Linked DNA regions of Homo sapiens: region 1 is linked to region 2. The links are contacts of gene promoters, found by promoter capture Hi-C in human tissues and cell types (Jung and others, 2019). All regions are on one chromosome and are shown on one strand. Each heading gives the region's core, a stretch centred on a gene start or on the middle of the fragment in contact. The rest is flanking DNA. Distances are from core to core; before and after follow the strand shown. Region 1 overlaps CRPPA (CDP-L-ribitol pyrophosphorylase A). Region 2 holds the start of TSPAN13 (tetraspanin 13).

Region 1 (4,320 bases), core at 218-2,717, 480 kb after region 2:
TTTTATGACAACTTTCAAGTATTTTCTTTGCCACACTTATTTTTGTACATTTTAATTAATTTCTGTTTTCATTAAAATATATAACTTCTAATCCAAGTTTATGTTCAATATGTGATGACCTTTTGACAACGTACATAATTCTCATCAAAAGTAGAGGGTAAAAGTTGATTTTAGCTGTGTAATTTTTTTTTTTTTTTTTTTTTTTTGAGATGGAGTCTCACTCTGTTGCCAAGCTGGAGTATAGTGGTGTGATCTCAGCTCACTGCAACCTCCACCTTCTGGGTTCAAGTGATTCTCCTGCCTCAGCCTCCACCATGCCCATTAGCTGTGTAATTTTATCATGATAGCACAGTTGGAAAGAGAACAGGCTCTGTTATCAGACTGCTTGCACTTTGGATGTTAGCTCTGTTTCCTAATTTCCTTATCTGTAAATTGAAACTGTTAATAACATCTATGTTCTAAAGTTGCTGGGTGAGTTGAATAAAATGAATATATTTAAAGTGCTTAGAGAAGCATCTGGCATGCAGTACGTTTTCAATGCATTTGAACTATAATTAAACTTTCAGTGATAAGTTGGCAGAGTGGTGTGACAGTATTAGATAGTACAGACTGTTAGTTCCCATACTTCAGTGCTGTACTGGATACATGAGTTGTTAAAATTAACAAATTAACCAGTGTCTTCTACCTCCTCCTTTCTAAAGAATCTAATTTGAATTAGTATGCTTTAATTTAAAGTTTATAGCTGAAAGATGACAGTGAACTTTCTTACTGTATATATTCTTACATTCATGTCATTACCTACTATCTCCCTTAAACAATTGTTTATTCTTAGTCATATAAGTAAATATATATGTGATAGCCACTACAATCCTTATGTTGATACCTTAAAAATCATTTTGGTTTTCTGGAACTAATCCTCCAATAGATGCTCTAGTGAGGGCTCATGGGCACAGTATTCCCAAGTTCTTCGATGTGAATAAAATTATTCTTTTGCTCAAAATCTTCAAGGTGGTTTTGGCTAGATTAAAAGCAATCTTAATTCAGTAATTTTTTGTTGAGTATCTTCAATATGCCAGTCTATTTTCTTTTGTCATAAAGTGTTTTGGTCAAGTGTGATGAAAATCTGACTTTCTTTGTCTTATAAGTGATTTAGTCTATTTGCCTGGATGCTCAAATAATTCTTTTCCTTTAAAGTCCATTTGTTTTACTACAGTTTTCTTAATTATAGTCATTTTGGCTGATATTGCTAGGTACATAGTGGATGCTTCTGTGTAGTTTCGAATCTTTTTATTTGACATTATTTCTTTAGTTTTTTTCTGTTTGGTTACTTCAGTTTTCTTCAGAGATTCCTGTTGGATGAAGCTTACATGTTCTTTGGCCATCCACAGCTATTACATTCTCCTGAGTTTTTCTAATCTCTTAATTTCTTTTTAATTTTCTTACTTCCCGTCTTTTATTTCTGTTCAGTCATTACCTTTTGTGTTTTTTCTAATTTAGTCTTCATTTCTGAAATATTTTTTAAATTTTCTCGCCTTGTTTCTAAGTTATTCCAAGTCTGACTTTTATAGTTCTGTCATTTTCTTAATTTCTTTTAGCTTATTAAATATTGGGTTACAGTCTTCATTTATTTTATGACTGGGTCTTTCTGATGTGCATGGGTTTCTGTAGGTACATTATTTTGCTGTTTAGTCTTTTTTTTTCTTTCTTTCTGTCATTCATATATATATATTTTTTGTTTGTTTTTGTTTTTGTTTTTTTCCGAGACAGGGTCTTGGTACTATCATGGCTCATTGCAGCCTTGGCCTTGGCCTGCTGGGCTCAAGCGATCCTCCCATCTCATCTTCCTGAGTAGCTGGGACCACAGGCACACACTGCAATGCCCAGCTAATTTTTTTTTTCCTTTTTGTAGAGACAGGAGTCTCCACATGTTGCCCAGGCTGGTCTCAAACTCCTGGCCTCAAGTGATCCTCTCACGTTGGCCTCCCAAAGGGCGGAAATACAGGCATGACCATTGCACCTAGCCCTATTGTTCCTTTTTAAGTAGAAGAGTTTTATCTAGTTTTAGGAGGAAGGGATGAGTCAAAATAACACCTCCGTGGCCGTCCTTTGCCTGTACTTTCTCTTTCCTTTATTCCTAGTGCACCTCCCTTGGTCCATCTAGACTTCTCAGGCTGGTGCTTTAACATACTACGGTGCTTCTGTTTATTGGTTTTGAATGTGCTTTGGACCCAGACCCCCAGTTATCCCTAGCAGAGAACGTTCATGTGGCTTCCTTGTTTTCAACTTTGAATTAAAGCCTACAAAGGCTTCTCCTAGTTTCTGTTGCTATTCCCAGAATGGAATGGCCTGCTAAGGTATCCAGAAAGTATCTGATGATGATTTTGTTGTTTTCTGTCTTTCTTGGTTTACTCCCATTTTTTTCTACAGTTTCTTAAACTGTGTGTGTCTTTATATGTGCTGCCAATTTATCCCTACCCACTAATATTATTTTTTTTTAGACACTGTCTCACTCAGTTGCCCAGGCTGGAGTGCAGTGGCATGGTCTCAGCTCACCACAACCTACGCCTCCCAGGTTCAAATGATTCTCGTGCCTCAGCCTCCCAAATATTGGTTTTATAGTAGATAATGTCTATAGGTTTTTGGCTTTGATATCCTCCTTGCTTTTTCTGTTTTTATGAAGGGTCTGCAGAGATTCAAAGACTAAAATCATATTTCTAGGTTTCCAGAATCTTTCTCCCCTTTATTGTTCGTGTGCTCTCCTGGCCATTTATAATTTTTAAAGATCACTTAAATTTCTCTTTTAATTTCAAGTATCTAATTCGTCTATAAATATAGACAGACATAGCAAATTTGGAATTTTTAAAAAATTAGGTTTGGCTTGAAGTTAGGGATTTCCTTCATATAATAAAACTAAGAAGTATTCATATATTCAAAAGTAAGAAAATCACCATTCCTCAAAAATTTCTTAATTTAATATCTTCCTTTTTGGAGATAAATTAGACTTTTTATTTTTTTTTAATGAGGAGCTAATGTAGAACTTCTAAAACTGAACTTTGGGTGTCCTGTTATTTTACTCAGAGAATCTTGGTTCACCTTGAAAGGAGATATCGTTCCTGCTAAGCCTTCCCTGACTTCTAAATTTGGTTAAAAAGAATTAAAAGTTTAAAAACCTGTTATGCCACACAAACTTAAGAGAATGCTTTCTCTTAGAAACAGCCACAACAGGCCGGGTGTGGTGGCTCACGTCCGTAATCCCAGCAATTTGGGATCCGAGGTGGGCGGATCACGAAGTCAGGAGATCGAGACCATCCTGGCTAACACGGTGAAACCTGTCTCTACTAAAAATACAAAAAATTAGCTGGGCGTGGTGGTGGGCATCTGTAGTCCCAGCTACTCGGGAGGCTGAGGCAGGAGAATGTCGTGAACCCGGGAGGCAGAGGTTGCAGTGAGCCGAGATCGCGCCGCTGCACTCCAGCCTGGGCGACAGAGCGAGACTCCGTCTCAAAAACAAAACAAAACAAAAACAAAAACAAAAACAGCCACAACACTGATTATGGAGTGTCAGGAGTAGTACTGAAATGGGCAGTTCCCCTGGCCCCTTCGCAGGACTGGCTAAGGGGTTGGCTCATTTAATCAGCCCACAGCTCTCCACCTCTCATGGGACAGGGAGCATGCAGGTGAGCAGGTACAGAGGCCAGGACAAGTCCTTCTGGGCGCGATGGCAGGAATAGAACTTCATGCAGCTCCATGGCTACATCTAGCAGGGTATCCATGACCCCTGAAGCCCCAGAGGACGTGTGTTACATTGTGCTCTTTTACCTTTGCTGTCTACAAACAGCTTAAGTGTTTAACAGCTCAGTGGAGGGTAGGATGACAACCTTTTGCACCAGCCCTCTTGGTACCAGAGTTCTTGTTCGGTGTCCGGGAGGAATCAGGCTGCATCAGTTAATTGAAGGGTGGTGAATGTGGAGGATTTACTGACGAGTGGAAGTGGCTTTCAGTGGGATGCGGTGCTGGAAAGGGGATGGAGTGGAAAGGTGGTCTTCCCCTGGAGTTTGGCTATCCCCTGCTGACCTCTTCTCTGTGGTCCTACCGTCAAGCCGTCCTTCTGAAGTCCCACCTTCAAGCTGTCCCTCTGAAGTCAAACTGCTTCTCTTTGACAGCTGCTGCTTCTCTTCTGGCCCCTGCTGTTCCACTCTGCTGCCCCTCTGCCATCACTCTGCTAGTGGAGCTTGGGGTTTTTTATGGGTACAAGATGGGAGGCAGGGAGAGCCAAAAAGCAGCATTTGAGTGGGAAAACAGGAATGCATGTTCTCACTT
Region 2 (3,995 bases), core at 1,181-3,680:
GGAGAAATAGAAGCTAAATAATGGCCATGGCACATTTTCAGCATCTATCTAAGACTTGATCCAACTTTTACCTGTCACTTGCCTCCACTTTAAACTGCTGCAGTTATTTAAGCCTATTTACAATGTAAAAGAAGCAAGCAGCCACTAATTCATTTTAAGAAATGTCCCTTTGTCTAAAAAGTCTATGATTTAAAAGGGCTAGCCATTTTTATTGTCCCGTGAATTTCCAATTCATTAAGTTTTACTGCATAGCTATTAAAATCAATAGAACACACACTTTGAAGGTCAATAATTTAGAATAGATATTAAATAGTCTTAATATGTCCCTTTAGAATCACCTTTCTTTCGCCTCACTTTCCTGATATACTCTAAATACAACTAAAAATGATGTCTAGAAAGCAAGGAACTTCATTTTAAAATAACTTGCCTTTTTAAAAAAGATTATACATTGATATAGACCCTTCAGTGAAGTAAGTATGCAAAGTAGACATTCCACTCTGTGTAAGCAGGCACTGTAAGACTAAGTGTCTGGCAAACAGATGACTAAATCATTGGCAGAAAAAAAACAGAACTCAGGTCACAAAATAAGGAATTTAAAGTTCCAAGCAGGCCACTCACACTGATTTAAAAAAAAAAAAAAAAACCCTAGAGAACTGGTCAGCATTTACTTAATAAACAGCCAGGGTGATAAGCATACCTCAGGGTGATACAGATGAATTTTGATCTGAAACTTGACATGTATCTCCAAGGAACTGTATCACCAGGTGTTCTAAAATTTTTTTCCCAAGTCTACTATTAATGACCATGTTGACCAGATTCTTACTAACTAGCCATAAAAGCGTACTCAATGCCTGTTTCTGTCTTGCCTTCAAAGCTTGCAGTCATGTTCACATACAAAGGAACAGTAAAGGTAAAATGACCCAACCTCCTTCTCCTGTTGGTGACCACAAGGCAGCCTCTCTATTCCAAGGAGGTAATCTAAGCTTGCACAGATGGCCTAGCTCTCTGCTAATGCAGGGGTGCTGGGTTTGTTTTCAGGGTGGGTGCTGCAAAGCGCCAGGTATATTTATAGAAGGGAGCAAGACTACTATGGAGGGATGATGACAGAAGAGGAAGTTTCTTCCGCCCGGTAGAGACAGCCTGTGGAAAGATCTGGATTCCACAGCCTAGGTTCCACTCCTGACTCGTCAACTACCAGCTATGTAAACTTACTAAAACCTTTTTGGTCTGTTACCTTATGTATAAAATGCAGATAATGCCCCATTCCCTCAGAAGGTTGTCAGAATGATGAACGAGCATTGTGTATGTAAAACCTGGGACGTGATAGGCATTCAATAAATGTCGATCTGTCCTGCCCATCCTCCTGTTCACCCAGAATTGCGCCTCAAAAAATCACAAAGAGAGCCTGCAGCGTTAAAACTAAGAGGCCCAAGCTGGTTGGCAGGGAAAGAAACGACTTGGGTGGGGGCTCGCTTATTTCCTGGAGGACTTGGTTTAAAATGGAGTTAGGATATTGATCATGGACAAGACACACAGAAAAAGCACCAAGTACTAGCAAAACTGACAACAACAAAAACAAAAAGACATCCCTTTACTGTGAGCACGAAACAAACTTCGGAAGCAGCGGACATCCTGTGAACCTACTCAGTGGCCTCAATTAAAATCCCGAGGGTACCAAGAGCTAACCCAGAGGCACACCAGCCATATGCCGCCTCGTCAGTTTCAGGCCACGCCATTCCGCAAAACTGTCCGCAAGCCCTGACGGCTCTCGCGCCTCCACGCCTGGCCCAGATGCGTCTGGATGTCAGGAGCGAGCGGCAGAAGGGTACGGGGTGGGAAAGCGGAGAGGTCCGGTTGAATGTTTGAAAAACAAGGCGGTGGGTGAGGGGGCGGGGTGGAGCAATGTGGCAGAGACGCGGCCAGCGAGCCTGAGAGACCGCGGCTTCACAATGAACGAAAGGAAGAGACTGCGACAAGCGCCGGCGCCCGGTCCCCGGCGGGGACGGATGGTGAGGCCGGGGGCGCGCAGACGTGGGAAGCCGGGAAGGGGGCGCGGGATGCAACGAGTGAGTCGCTGACCAGGCAGGGAAGCCAAAGAGCTCCCAAGCAGGTGCAAAGCCCCCAAGCGAGCAGGAACGGACTGGGGATACTCACGGTGTAAAGCAGGTTGAGGGCGCACAGGCAGTTCTTGGAACACGCGAAGCCCCCGCAAACCATCTTGGAACCTGTGGTTGCCGGCAGCTGCACGTAAATTCGACTCCGGCGGAGGTTCCCTGACAGCTGCTTTGTCCTTGCCTTTGGGGCCTGGCCCAGGCGGGGCAGCAACGCAGACGTGGGTGGGGGGCCGGGGCCTGGGGCTGCAGTGCGCGGCGCGCGCGCGGCGGCGGCTCGGACCCGCTTTGGAACCTGCGGCCGCCGCAGCTGAGCCGGAGCAGGAGCCCGAGCCCCGCCCAGCCCCTTCGTCTCGCCCCGCGCGCTGATTGGCCGCTGGCAGGGAACAAAGGTAGAAATATGCAAATAAATGCGCTCCGCCGACCGGGATCCGGGAGGGGCGGAGCGGTCCCGGGGCGAGGGGGAGAGGGCCAAGGCCGTGTGGGAGGGAGCCCCAGGCCAGAGCGGCGGCCTTGGTGTAGTTTCCCCAGGAGCAGGTGAGGAGGGAGGGCGGGGCTCGGAGGAGATCCACGCTGGCAAGGAGAAATATGACAGCACCTCTGGATTCTTGGCCCTGGCAGATGACGTGGCACCATTTTGAATGAGATTTCAAAACTAAGCACCTGGCCTTGTTTGAGGGAAGGAAGGCAGGAAGCAAGTAATGAATGAAAACATGTGAAAGATTTAAAAGAGAACGAAGTAGAGGCAAATGAAAGGGAGAAAATAAGTGAAACAATAAAAAATAAAATAAAATCCCTGCTTCTCTCAGAAAATAAGATATGTGCCCTATAATTGTGACCTGGACAGGTCAGACTTATCCTACAAAGATTTGCAAAATACTAATAAACTTTATGAATACATGCATGCAAAGGAAAATCAAGAGCGGGAGAAGGTGGGGATGGTTAATAGGTCCAAAAAAATAGAAAGAATGAATAAGACCTACTATTTGATAGCACAATAAAGTGACAATCGTTAATAAGAACTTAATTGTGTATTTTAAAATAACTTAAAGAATGTAATTGGATTGTTTGTAACTCAAAGGATAAATGTTTCAGAGGATGGATACCCTATTCTCCGTGATGTGCTTATTTCACATTGCATGCCTGTATCAAAACATCTCATGTACCCCGTAAATATATACATCTGCTACGTGTCAACAAAAGTTTTTTAAAAAATTTTAAAAAGAAAATCAAGAGAGATTATTTTTGTGTTCTGGTCGTGAATTTCAATAAACTTATTTTTTCACAAAAATAACTGAAAATCTTCAAATAACTCAGACTTCACCTCAATTAATTCATTATCAGTTTACTGCTTCTCTACTATAGAAATGCATCTTGTATCCTTAATTCCTCACCTATAAATTGAGATTTTAGAAGTATGTCAAGCACTTTTTGCATAGTGGCTGGCACAGGGGAAGGCCTCAATAAATGTCAGCTAGTATTCATAGATCTGACATTTTGTAAAGGCCTACTGTGTTCCAGGCACTAAGCGAAGGCAATAAAGGTTTATTTACTTCATAGTAGTTTCTACCAAAGAAAAAGGTTTTATAAAGAGATTTGCAAGTTTACAATACTATATCTAACCTAAAGGTTCATACGGAGTAAATTATGTAATTGCAAATGCTAAATTGTATTAAATTAAATTAAACATTGCAGCTGATTAAAATAATTCGTCTTCTTAGAATTCTCTGCTCCCTCTTCCAGCCTCTCCTTCCCTCCCCTGACCCCACCATACCAACAAGACCTCATTAATTTGTTAGGCTTTCTATTCCACATTAACCTTTTATATACAGCTAGAAATATTTCAAAAACTAACCTGGAAAATGATCCTCAAACACAAACAAT

Evidence for each region. Contacts are between HindIII fragments. The study calls those that stand out against the background at their distance.
Region 1: a fragment that was not itself captured here is called in contact with the fragment with the promoter of TSPAN13 in region 2 in 1 of the 25 tissues and cell types used here (mesendoderm cells).

Annotation. Positions count from the first base shown.
Region 1 is chr7:16,273,251-16,277,570 of GRCh38, reverse strand. All of the region lies in intron 6 of CRPPA (CDP-L-ribitol pyrophosphorylase A), which reads left to right. Among named protein-coding and RNA genes, the nearest start is that of CRPPA-AS1, 65 kb to the right of the region's middle. The HindIII fragment of the contact is 3,442 bases long and covers 1-3,188 here.
Region 2 is chr7:16,752,190-16,756,184 of GRCh38, reverse strand. TSPAN13 (tetraspanin 13) reads right to left here and starts at 2,430. Exons shown (of 6, transcript NM_014399.4): 1 at 2,155-2,430. The coding sequence starts at 2,217. The HindIII fragment of the contact is 15,712 bases long and covers 188-3,995 here.